Regions from separate parts of the Homo sapiens genome. Here all the other regions are linked to region 2. The links are contacts of gene promoters, found by promoter capture Hi-C in blood cells and fetal thymus (Javierre and others, 2016). All regions are on one chromosome and are shown on one strand. Each heading gives the region's core, a stretch centred on a gene start or on the middle of the fragment in contact. The rest is flanking DNA. Distances are from core to core; before and after follow the strand shown.

Region 1 (4,092 bases), core at 1,417-3,916, 330 kb before region 2:
CACTGATTCTAACTGCACTTGTTCATCAACTCCACGAATATTTGATTAAGAGTTATGTTCCTATTGTACATATGGACAATACCTGGCCTCATGGAACAGATAGTGCTATGTGATATGGACAAAGACAGGGAGACTGAGTGTGCAGAGGAGGTCATGTGACCTTTACTGGAGGGATATAGCAAAGGCTTCCTAGAGGAAGTGATGTCTAAATTGACAGGGTTAGCTCTGGTCTGAGTTGTGTCTGTTGGTAGGGCTAATTAATAAGACATTCGGACATCAGAAGCCCCCAAAAGACAACAAATTCCTGCCCATCCCACCCTACCATATAATAAAAGGAAGGCAGGAGGGCCTGAATGAGGTAACTCACACCTATAATCCCAGCACTTTGGAAGGCAGAGCGGAGGACTGCTTGAGCCCACGAGTTTGAGACCAGTCTAGGCAACAAAGTGAGACCCTGTTCTCTACAAAAAAATACAAAAATTAGCTGGGCATGCTGGTGTGTGTCTGTAGTCCAAGCTACTTGGGAGGCTGATGCACGAGGATTGGTTGAACCTGGGAGGTTGAGGTCGCAGTGAGCCGAGATTGTGATTTTTCAGAAAGGATAAGTAACTTTGCCTACAGGGCTCTTCTATAGCACAAGGAAGATTCTATGTGTGAAAGTGCTATCTAGGCACTGTGCACCACATCATAAGTGCAGGAATGGAGCTCAGGGCTTGAGTCAAAAAGATGTGATTTGAGCCCAAACTCTGCCACCTGCTCAGAGTGCTCAGAAAATACCCTGGAGAAGTTACTTATCCTTTCTGAACCTCATTTTCTTCACTTATAATTCCAGCTACAGCAGCCTCATAAGACTGTGAAGATTAAAATTAATAGGAAATGTGTAATTTTTAAGTAAACTTTAATGTAAGCTGTTTTCATGCCAATCTTGTGCATCGGAGCTGATCTATAAGGTCTAGAAGATTTGGCTACCTCTGCTCTGATAAAACTCAGAACAATAGTTGATGCCATGTCTCTCAAACTGGGGTGTCTGTAAGACACACCTAGAGGATGGACTAAAGATGCAGATTGCCAGGAACCACCCCCAGAGATCTAAGCCGGGGGTTTGTATCAGAAGTACCTGTGGAGCTTCTTTTGCATTCCGATTCCTGGCCCAAGCTCTAGAGACTGTGATTCAGTAGCTCTGGGGTGTGTCCAAGATACCTGTGGCCCTTTAAATAAATCATTTTCCCTGGGTTTTCTGGAGATTTGGATTTAGTAGGACTAGGACAGGGTCCTAAACATTATTTTTAACAATCCCCCAAGGGATGCTTACGACCCTGTAAGGGTGACCCATATAACAGAAGCTTGTTGAAACTTGTTGCCAAATGACTTTCTTCTGTATCTCTCTACACATAATCTCCAGAATACAGAATGTCCCTTTGAGACTTCATCTCTCTGACTTTTCCATTTTAGACTGTCATTGCTGAACACTCTTTTGCTAACTTTTTGTTGTAGAATGTTGTATTGGTGTGTGTGTGTGTTATGTGATGGGTGGAGTGGAGGCTCACTCAACCTGACTTGCCTAGGCACTGGGAGCCCCATAGTGATTCCCACGGCCAGCTCTGCCCTTGTCACTTAACTCTTTATCCCAGAAGTGGAGTGTTGAATACACCCAGCAATTTGAATGTTCTGGTTAATTGAGATTTTTAAAGACCACAGTGACTTCACATTTTGTGTCCTAGCACTTAAAGCTAAACAGTGATTTTTTTTTTTTTTTTTTTTTTTTTTTTTTTTTTTTTTAGATGGAGTCTCACTCTGTCGCCCATGCTGGAGTAAAGTGGTGTGATCTCGGCTCACTGCAACCTCTGCCTCCCAGGTTCAAGTGATTATCCTGGCTTAGCCTCCCTAGTAGCTGGGATTACAGGCATGTACCACCATGCCTGGCTAATTTTTGTATTTTTAGTAGAGATGGGGTTTCACCATGTTGGCTAGGCTGGTCTTGAACTCCTGACCTCAGGCCATCCACCCACCTTGGTCTCCCAAAGTGCTGAGATTACAGGCATGAGCCACCATGCCCAGCCTAAACAGTGATTTAAACACACACACACACACACACACACACACACACACACACAACAAGAAAACAAAAAAATCCAGATGTTAAAAATATGCTGCCCAGATCAAGACCAAAATTTATACATCCATATAAAATAATTAAACATGTCATTTATTCACCAGTAAAATGATTATGATTTAATGCAGAGCCAAACTCTGACCACCGATGCTGAATATTTATGGCTGGCTCCCTCAGAACACAGAGGTAGCTGCAGAAATATGCTCTTATTCTACCCTACCTTCACTTGATGAATGATTATTTTACTTAGAGTGAGTGAGACTGAATTTGAAAATACGTCAGAGGTGAGGCCCAGTAAAATTCTATTTATAAATAGGGGTTATTGTAATCAGCTCTAAGTGGGCTTAAAATAGAAATCTAAAAAGTGAATTGTTAAAAAAAAAAACCAATACAATCTTTACTAATCAGAAAAGCACTCAATTTCTGGCACTTTAATGTGCATTCTGAAAATCTATTAACAAAGCTTGACTTAAAAAAAAGACCCCTAGTTCCCTTATTTAAACTTGTGAAAAGAAAGAAAAAAACACAAAGGTGAAACATAATAGGTACTGCATAATGATCACAAGGATGGAACAGCAAAGACGATGAAAAAGGAATTTATGATGATTACCCTGTGAAAACTCTCTGAAGCACATAAAGCTTTTTAATCACCTAAACTAGCTATCATTGCTCATAATAATTCTCACATTTGTATAGCACTTGACAGAGAGCTTTGTGGTTAAGAGAGTCTGAGGCTTAGAGCCAGACATTCTAAGTTCAAATGCTGGCTCTGCTACTTACTGACCACCTGCACTCAAGTAAATTACACAACCTCTCAGTGCCTCACTTTTGTCGTCTGCAAAATGGGGGCAACAACTACTGAAAAGGTTATTCTAAAAATTAAATGAGATAATACGTGTAGAGCACTTAATATAACGCCCAGTACATAACACACATAATAAATTGTACCTCTGACTATTATTATTACTCTATGATCATTTCAACAATCATGTGAGGAAAGTGTTATCATCCTTGTTTTACAGATGAGGAAACCGAAGCTCTTGGGGTAACACGACTTGTGAAACTGCATGCTACTCCTCAGTGGCAGGGTGGGGACTCTGGACAGAGGAACTGGCAAGGTCTTCTAGACCTTTGACGTGCATAAACTGGCAGGTTTACAGAATAACGAGGAAAACAAAGTGAAACAAAAGACTGTACCCGTGTGCTAAGAATTTATTACCCGCACATCAAAAAACTTATCCATCACGATCAAGCTGGCTTCATCCCTGGGATGCAAAGCTGGCTCAGCATATGCAAATCAATAAACATAATCCGTCACATAAACAGAACCAAAGACAAAAACCACATGGTTATCTCAGTAGATGCAGAAAAGGCCTTTGATAAAATTCAACATCCCTTCATGTTAAAAACTCAATAAACTAGATATTGATGGAACATATCTCAAAATAAAAGAGCTGTTTATGACAAACCCACAGCCAATATCATATTGAATGGGCAAAAGCTGGAAGCATTCCCTTTGAATACTAGTACAAGGTAAGGATGCCCTCTTCTCACCACTCTATTCAACATAGTATTGAAGTTTTGGCCAGGGCAATCGGGCAAGAGAAAGACAAAAAGCATATTCTAATAGGAAGAGAGAGAGTCAAATTGTCTCTATTTGCAGACAACATGATTGTATATTTAGAAAACCCCATCATCTCACCCCAAAAACTCCTTAAGCTGGTGAGCAACTTCAGCAAAGTCTCAGGATACAAAATCAATGTGCTAAAATCACAAGCATTCCTTTACACCAACAATAGACAAGCAGGGAGCCAAATCATGAATGAAGTCCCATTCACAATTGCTACAAAGAGAATAAAATACCTAGGAATACAGCTAACAAGGGATGTGAAGGACCTTTTCAAGGAGAACTACAAACTACTGCTCAAGGAAATAAGAGAGGACACAAACAAATGGAAAAACATTCCATCCTCATGGAT
Region 2 (4,380 bases), core at 999-3,498:
AAAATCAATGCAGGGACATGTATTTAAAGGTAAGTGACCCCCACCCCCACAAGGGGCTATGATCTAAAAGCAACTATTGTTGAAAGGTGAAGTACAAAGTAAAGGAGTCCACAGGGGAAATAACTGAATTAACCAAAGCCCCAAGCCAGGAGTCCCACCTTAGTTAAAATCACCCTGCTTATCTCCACCTCAATTTGCTGGGCAACCCAACTTGAGAAGGATGTTTACATTACTTAGGCAGCATGGCCCATTTTTACTTTTCACCCAGGTGTTGTGGCGCAAGGCCAGATGTTTGGCATCACCAAGCAAAACATCTATGTGACCAAGCTGTTTACATTTCATTAGGATTTTTCATCAGGAAGGTGCACTCCCTGCTGATGCACATCTTAATTACAATTAGGAGCTCTATTTACCCCCAGGAGCTTTCAGATTAGCACGACCACATTATAGGATCCGTTTCAGAAATCATCCTCAGAAAATGCTACTCTAGCTTCCAAAAACCATCTCTAAGAAATCAAAATTTCACACAACTTCCTTCCAGAGTGTGTTTTCTACCAAGAAAGTCAGCTAACTTTTAGTAAAAACTAATTCTGCATTCGTAGTCTATGTAGTGAATACATCTTTTTCCTCTCAACTGCTAAGTAGCGCAGAACTTTTTCTTTTCCTAAACACAGTGCTAACTTAAAAATGAAAGATGCATGATAAAAGAGCAGAGATCTATTTATCCGCTCAGGTTTAGGGCTGGGAGTGGGGGAGGGCAGAATCCAAAGGCTCCTCACCCCCTCAAGGGATGCATGTTAAAAGTGAGGCCCGAGACCCCGGAGACTTTAATCAACTTTCCCCCTCCAACCTCCAAAGAATGAATCGGTTGTCTCCACAGGCTCAGCCGGGCTCTTCCCTCTCATTGTGTACCGGCTCAGACGCAGCAAGGACCCCAGCTTCCCGCAGCGAACTAAGACGCTCCGGCTTGCGGTGAAGTCTTTCTCTAACTGTTGCGATTGTCTTTAGAGATTACCAAAATCAAATATGCATTAGATGGCTTTTCCCCCTCTTGTTTGTAACACGCACACACACACGCGCGCGCGCGCGCGTGCACACCCAAAGCACTTTGGAGCCGCAGGCCGCCTCTGACAGCACATTTTGCACAAAGTGGCAGCGGCTGCAGCGGCGCACAAGTTTTGGCCTCTATGATGACTCTCGGGAGGGCCGGAGGGCCGGGGGCGGTGGCGATGCGAGGCCGCCGGAGCCCCAGGAGGACAGGGCTTTTGTTTGCGTCGATCCGCGAGCCGCCTGGGCTCTGGCGAGCACCACTGAAAATCCAAACTCCCTCCTGGACCGCGCCTTCCGGGCCGGCTCGCAACTTGGGGGCAGGATAGACTTGCCTGAACACCGGCTGGGGCGCGCTAGAGGTCCAGGGAGACAAGGGGGGACGCCCTGCACAGAAGTGCCCCGATCACCCCCAGGACCCTCAAACCCCTCCACGCTTCCTGTCAGCGCTGACAATCGCTGCTGCGCACCGAGGAACGAGTCCCTGGGCGCGCCCCGGCCCGCCGCGGGGCTCCGGGGCAAACCCTGGCCTGGCGGGGCTCCGGGGCAAACCCTGGCCTGGCGGCGCCGGCGAGCCCCGTGGCGGGTGGCCGGACGCGCCCCGGAGCCAGCGCGGCGCTTCCTGCGTGTCCCGCGCCCGGCTGGACGGCGGAAGGGTGGCCACGGGTCAGGGGGTCTGGGCGGGCGGGGGCCGGCGGGCGCCTCTTACCTTGGGCAGCAGCCCCGCGTGCGGCCAGCAGCAGCGCGGCCAGCAGCGCCAGGAGCGGCGGGCGCGTCCCGCGGCGGCGCGGCCGGTGCATTCCTCCTCTCGCTGAGGCGGCGGCGGCGGCGGCTCCCAGGCCGCGCGCAGAACATCCACGGGCTCTTCCCGGGCTCCCGGCCGCCTCGTCCCGGCCGCTGGCGCTCGCAGGACGCCGGGGACGTCTGCAAAGCTCTTTGTCCCTCTAACCTGCTCCCTCGCCTCCGCCTGGCCGCCTCTGGATGCCGCGAGCGCGATCCCTTCCCAGCCCTCTGGCTGCAGCCTCGCCTGGGCCGGCGGGTCAGTCCCAGGCTGTCCGGGTCGCACCAGTGGGCGTGAGTCGCCCTGGGTCGGACTCCGAGAACAGCGCACCCTGCGCCCAGGGGCTGCCGTCCCGGGGCTCCCTCGGCGGCGGCGGTGGCGGCTGCTCCAGCTCTCCACGCTCCCTCTCTCGCTCAACTTGTCACTTTCCACCAACTCTCCAGCCCAGCGCCCCAGCCCCGACCAATGGGAGACGCGGCCCAGGCTGGCGACCCAGCGCCCTCTGCTGCAGCCTCTCAACGCCCGCACCCTCCCCGACTTCGCAGAAAGCGGTCGCGGCTCCCGCGTCTCGGGCACGCTCCCTCCCCTCCCCTCCCCCACACTCCTCAAACTCGCCACCGAACCGAGCGCCGGGGACCTTCGAGGCTACTTGACAGAAGGGGAAACCGAGGCTCAGAGAGACTTATCCGGGATCTCAAGCCAGTTCGTGGCTGGACGACAGTAGACCCAGGTTCTAGCAGCCTCAGCTGTGTCACTGTTAGCTGTGTGACTCTGGGTAATGGCACATTTATTGCTATCATACAATTTCCCTTTTGCTTTCTTCTTGGACCCAAGAGTTGAGAGAGTTCTTACACAAGTAATTTATACTTCGCCTTTTTGTCTTTAATTTGTAGTCTCACTGAATTCAATGTCATCTGTACTGCCTCCTGGCAAGATTTATTGAGGATTATCTGTGGTTATTTTTGCCAATGTCCCATGGTTTTTTGAAAGGTGTTTTTGTCTTCCGAATGTGAAGATAGAATACTGTATCGATTTATCTTCTTTGTATTCATTATTTTTTCAGGCCTTCTGAATCTTTGCATGTTTGTTTGTTTGTTTGTTTTTTGTCTAGCTGCTCTGCCATGAGCCAAGGGATCATTAAAGACCTCTACAATGAGTGTGTTTTTGTCCATTTCTCCTGGTTTAACTTTATGGATTTTGTAATTCATAAATACCCATAATGATTTGACTTTCCCTGTAGAGACTGCCTTTGATCATAAAAAGTGGTGAGCGCCTGCTGTTTTCAGGGCTGTGCTCTAGGCTCTGAAGATGCAAGGGTAATAGGACACCTGTCAGTCTTGCTCTGGAGGAACAGGAAGAAGCCCATAGTCTCTCAATAATCACGTGGCCACTTACTAAATACCTCCTGTTTGCCTTGTGTTTTATATGCATTTGCTCACAAATCCTCCATTGACACTAAAAAGAGTCATTAAAAGTATATACTTCTTAGCTGTTTTACATATATTATCCCCATATTACAGTTTTAGAAATTGAAACTCAAAGGGAAAGTAAATGACTTGCCCACAGTCTCACAGACATGGGGTAGCCAAGCCAGCACTCAGGCTGTTTCCACTGAGAGAGTTAAAGCCTGTAACCAGAGCCTGGCACATGATAAGCACTCACTCGGGAGTTGTTGCTGTTGCAGTAGCCTCTAAGAACCCAGCTTTAGGGTTTTAAAATGAACAGTCACTTCATGGAGGGCGAGGACTCTGTCTCAATCATCTAGGTATCTTGCTGGCCTCTAACAGTACCTGGAATGCAATAGGAGCTCAATTAATGAACAAAGGTTAGGTCACCATTTGGAAAATATTAATTTCTCATCATATTTGTTTTATAGGGGTGCATGGAGGAGGGACAAAATTTCATCCATACTCCTTGGCACCAGGAAAAGCAGATCCCTGAGAGCTGAGACATTAGAAGGGGGAAAAAATGCAGCCCAAAGTATGTCCCAGCAGGTCATGGACTCCAGACTCCCAGCCCTTTGCCTTCAGGCAGGTGAATGACTAACCCATGCGGGACAAACAGTCACTTATTCTTCTCCAGGACTTCATGGCAGGAGCTGTGTCGGTAGTTTTCCCCCTTTCTATCGCTCTGACCTGAGGTCAAAAAATGATAGACAGAGAGGCCTTGGGTCAACCAGTTCATTACCTACATTGATCTGTCCCCCAAGTTTCTCTGCCTGAGATCTATTCAATCCTGTCCCAATTATCTCGCTTCTTGCCTGAGGAACTTACTGCACAAGGTTCTCTTGTTGGGAAACAGTCTTTGATGGTCAGTCTTAGTATATCACAGCCCAGAAATCAGAGGATACTCAGTTACACTGCACAGTGCTGGGCAGTCCTCTGTTGTCTACAGTCAATACACACAGTTGTCAGACAAGGAGCCTTTCTCATCCACCCACCCTGCCCCCAGCCCCCACCCTATAACTCCTAGGCCCAGGTATCTTAGGTAACAGACAGCTGCTAGTGCTGAGTATACAGAACTTAATGGCACTTTTATCAGTACTTAAACTT
Region 3 (4,248 bases), core at 678-3,177, 300 kb before region 2:
TTGGGGAACTCTTGCTCTAAGACCCAAATAAGAGGTTGGGGCTTTGATTTGCAACAGAAAGACAGCCTCAAATTGTTTTGCAGATTCCTTGCTACTCCAAGAAATAAGATTCAGTGAGATCAGGAGAATAACCTCCAGCTAAAAGGTAGTGGGATTCTTCTTCCTCTGTCAGCAAGAAGGGTAGGAGAACTGAGCTGACAGGAAGACCCACAGTAACACCTCTTGATAGGTGAGGCACAGAATATCACACTGGAGGAAACCCACTGCTGGAAAAGTGACAATCATACTTTCCTGTGGTCACTTATCAAGCCAGCATAATCTGCAATTTGTCAAAGGCCTTTCCTGACTTGGGTGTCATTCATTCTCACCACATTCTGAAAAGGTGTGGGCAGAACCATAATTTGAACTCAAAGAGATGGTGCACTGAAACGTGAACTCTTAGAGCCATTAAGCGTAAAGGTGTGGAGTGTAGCATTACTTATACATGTTTTTAAAAGATGAAGCAAGAGCAAGTTGATACACTTAAAGTGATTTTAGGAGAACATATACATTAGGAATGAGGGACAGGGAGATCTTGTTACTTATAAAGATGCCTGAGATACAGTGTTAAGTGAAAAAATAAGGATGCAACTGCATATACACGGTTATTGCAATCACAGGGAAAATGTATAGGACAGTGACTGGAGGCATTCATAGGAGCTAACATTGATGGTGTATTATGTGTCAGATGCTCCATACAGCATGAATTATCACTCTTAAACCTTGCCAAAAACAAAACAAAAAACCCCTATGAAGAAGCTTCTAGAAACATCGTATAAGGACAGATGAGGAAACTAAGGCTGAGAGAAGATAAAGTAACTTGCCCCAGATCACACTGTGGTGATCTGGTGGGCCTAAAAGCAGATAATCTTAACCCCCTCTATATTAGAAAAACATGGTTCTGTTGTGGTTAGTGAAGTTATATGTACATTTTTTTTACTCTATTCTCTAGATGTTCTGAAGTGTAATTTTATTAAATTTAAAACATTTTAGGGTGTGTATTAAGAAATTAGAACTTGAATATTCAGATTATGTATTCAGCTCTCATTGGACAGTAAATGTCTGATAAGCTTATTGTTTGATCAAGCACAGGAATGACAAGGTTACCCCAAATCGGATTCAGCCAACATTTTTAAAGCACTGGCTATTGGGAGGATTAAATGAGATAAGGTATGTCAGGAGCTTAGCACAGTGCCTCGGGAACACTAATAAGCACTCAACAGATATTATCTACTATTATTATCATGTGCCAGGTACTATCCTAAGGGCTCCCACGTAGGTTATCTCATTTTATCCTCACAAACACTGAATGTCAGGTTATTATTTATCTTCATTGTGCAGATGGAAAAAAATTGAGATTTGGAGGTTAAGTAACTCCCCCATTGTTGCTCAGTTATTAAGTGGCGGAGCCAAGGTTAGTGCCCTGCCTGCACCTGTGCCAGTCTCTAACACAGGTAAGGCATAGAGTCATATACTTGCCCAAACTGGTAGCACAATCTGGTGTGGATTTTCCCCACCCATACATAAGTCCACACTGGGGAACTATCCAGGTAAGTTCAAACTTCTCATCCTGGGATTCCAAGTCCTCTGGCATTTTCCCTGCCTCTATTTGTCAAAACCCACTTTTCATTTCTTGTCCACAGATCTTCATTTTAACTGAGTTCTCCCTCCCTCTGTGCCTTGCACAGAGTTCTGCATTCTCTTGGTCTCACCTAATCCTCTCCATCCTTTAAGATCAGTTCAAGTTCAGCCTCTGCCAGGAAGCCCACCCACCCACATCAACCTCTCCCTCTCTTGACTTCCCACAGAGTTTAGTTTCTATCTAATTATACTTCATGCCATTTAATCCCTTAAATAGTTAATGTAGCTACTCCACCTTGCAGAAGCTGAAAAAGAAAAATGAGGGTTGAGGGGTAAAGGTGTTTATAGGCTTATGTAACTGACAAGTCCAGTGACTTTGGGGCACGGTTGGATACCCAAATACACTAACTGGGCTGGCTTGGTCATGTGGCCACCCTGATTTAGGTAAGGGTCAGCTCCACCTAGACAGAATGGGCATGAGGTGGTTTTCCGCAAAGGAAAAGCAAGCAGTTCTTGTAAAAAGAAGAATAAATGGACATTGGGCAAGCAAGCACAGCAGATGTCCCTGACCTTATTGAATTAAATTCCTCAGCACTTTAATAATAACTGTCCTTCACTGGTCAGGCACCAGACTGTAACCCCGTTAAGAACTGCCAAGCAGCAACAGAGGTCTTATTAACCTCATCTCCACTGAAGTGAGCCAGGCCCCAGGGCAGAGCTACAAAGGGGAGCTTACAAATCTCTGACACAGCATTTTAATGCCACAGGGGATTTTTTTTTCCTTTCCCACACATTGTGTTAACCCTTCGGGAACAGGGGGGAAACCCAGTGTAGAGCCCATTAGTGGCTTTCCTTCAGAGCTCTTCAAAGAGGCCCCATCATTTGCCAACATGATTTTTCTTAATATTGTGCAGATGGCAGGCTAATCCATCTTCAAATGATCTAATTGCATCTAACTTTCTCTGAAGAAACATTGCATGGAGTTGCGATGTCTTAATTGTGGGGTGTATGCAGAGTGTCTCCAAGATTACAGAGCCAAGCACTCAAACCAAAGCTGGGGAATTTCTAGTGGAAACTCTCAGGGGAAGAAAACAGAAGGTGAAGATTGGCAAACTGGTAAGCTTCATCATGTCCAGTTCTTAGGGCCCAGTCTTCAAAAAATTGAAGTCATGCTTTCACATACTGGCTGCGAATTTCCACTCAGGGCTTGTAGAGGCTCCCCTGTGCCTTCAAAGCCTTACACTTGCATTTACCATGGAGAAAAATGGGTAAAATAAAGGAGCACATGGAGCAGGAAGGGGCACACAGAGGAGTAGTTGGATCTTCTGACTGATTGGGCAAGAATGAGGACCCCCAAGTGGCTAGTATTTTCTCAGGGGTTCACTGACCTTCCACTCTCTTAGCCCAGATACCTTCACACACCTTACAAAAGGCCTAAATAAATAAAACAAATTTACATAGAGGAGGGAAGCTAAGCAAAGTAGGGGTTCAGGGTGGTGAGACTGGAGATGAAGCCTGGAATTTCAATGCTTCTGCATAGGTGAGAGAGGAGCACACAGAAGTGGGTGAGGCTACCATGAATACCAAAGGCTCTCTTGCAGTTAGCATTTCCTTTAAATCTTGTTTATTTTATTTATCTTGTTTTTTCATCACAACTACTCTAGTAGGGGTTGAATTCTTATCTGAATTTACATTTGGGAAAAACCAGGCTCCCAGCTAAGGTCTCTGCTACAAGCTGGTGTCTAGCAGAGGTGGAATCCAGACGTTGGGATCTGTGTGTTTGGAACTCAGAGTAGGATACTATCCACGAAGCCCCTCCCTCAGACATGCCATGGAGCTAGTTGGAAGCTGGGTCAGGATCATATACCAGTTGCCAGCACCCCTGAGGTTCCTGGCATGTGTGGGTACAGATAACCCCGGCTCTCCCATTCCCTGGCAGACCTGTGGGAACTATTATTTTTACTAGGATGACGTCATGTATTAAACACTAGCGTGGTTTCTGTCAACAACAGGCTTTGAGGTCTTTGTTCTCCTCTCCCCACAAACATATTTATATTGGCCCCAGTAAACAATATCCTGCTTTTCATTTGCCTTCACAATCCCTTATGTCTCATCTGGTACACAATACATGGGAAATCAGGCTGTCAGGGAACTGGCAGTAAACCTAAGGCACTTTGTTAATTCCACCGTCAAGCCCCTACTGCAGTGAGAACTGATAGAGCTTATTTGGGTCCCTGCACCAGAGTTCTTCTTTCCTCTTAGTCCAGAGCCCTCAAAGAGGCTCTGAGGGCCATTTACACACAGCAGCTCTTAAAGAAGCCATAGGAAGCAGGCCCTTAGTAATAGCAAACTTCTATCAAGGACTTGTCATATGCCAGGCATCATGCAAAGTGAATGACACAAATTATCTCTCATGATCCTTGCAATTCTTTGCATAGATGCTATTGTTATTCCTATCTTTATAAAAGAAAAAACTTCACAGGTTATTCTGCAACCTCAGAAGTTTCTCGGCTCTAAGACAAGAAGCACTGGTGTTTTCCGTTGCTCATTCAGTGTTTAGATATTAATCAAGGCCCTCTTTGTGCCAGGGGTAGTTCTCCTGTTTGGAGAACTAAACCATGGACCACA

Evidence for each region. The method cuts DNA at HindIII sites, captures the fragments that hold promoters and counts their contacts. A CHiCAGO score of 5 or more calls a contact.
Region 1: a contact is called between a fragment that was not itself captured here and the fragment with the promoter of ROR1 in region 2, in 5 of 17 cell types (naive B cells, megakaryocytes, endothelial precursors and 2 more). The highest score is 6.6, in naive B cells.
Region 3: a contact is called between a fragment that was not itself captured here and the fragment with the promoter of ROR1 in region 2, in 1 of 17 cell types (endothelial precursors). The highest score is 5.2, in endothelial precursors.

What each region holds. Positions count from the first base shown.
Region 1 is chr1:64,106,083-64,110,174 of GRCh38, reverse strand. The region is part of intron 4 of ROR1 (receptor tyrosine kinase like orphan receptor 1); the gene reads right to left. It overlaps ROR1-AS1 (ROR1 antisense RNA 1), which reads left to right. Exons shown (of 6, transcript NR_110666.1): 5 at 1,782-1,855. Among named protein-coding and RNA genes, the nearest start is that of ROR1-AS1, 4.1 kb to the left of the region's middle. The HindIII fragment of the contact is 176 bases long and covers 2,579-2,754 here.
Region 2 is chr1:63,771,885-63,776,264 of GRCh38, reverse strand. It overlaps ROR1 (receptor tyrosine kinase like orphan receptor 1), which reads right to left and starts at 2,248. Exons shown (of 9, transcript NM_005012.4): 1 at 1,757-2,248. The coding sequence starts at 1,847. RefSeq lists an enhancer at 624-1,187 and silencers at 1,053-1,347, 2,132-2,181. The HindIII fragment of the contact is 6,004 bases long and covers 1-4,380 here.
Region 3 is chr1:64,071,988-64,076,235 of GRCh38, reverse strand. All of the region lies in intron 4 of ROR1 (receptor tyrosine kinase like orphan receptor 1), which reads right to left. Among named protein-coding and RNA genes, the nearest start is that of ROR1-AS1, 38 kb to the left of the region's middle. The HindIII fragment of the contact is 1,632 bases long and covers 1,112-2,743 here.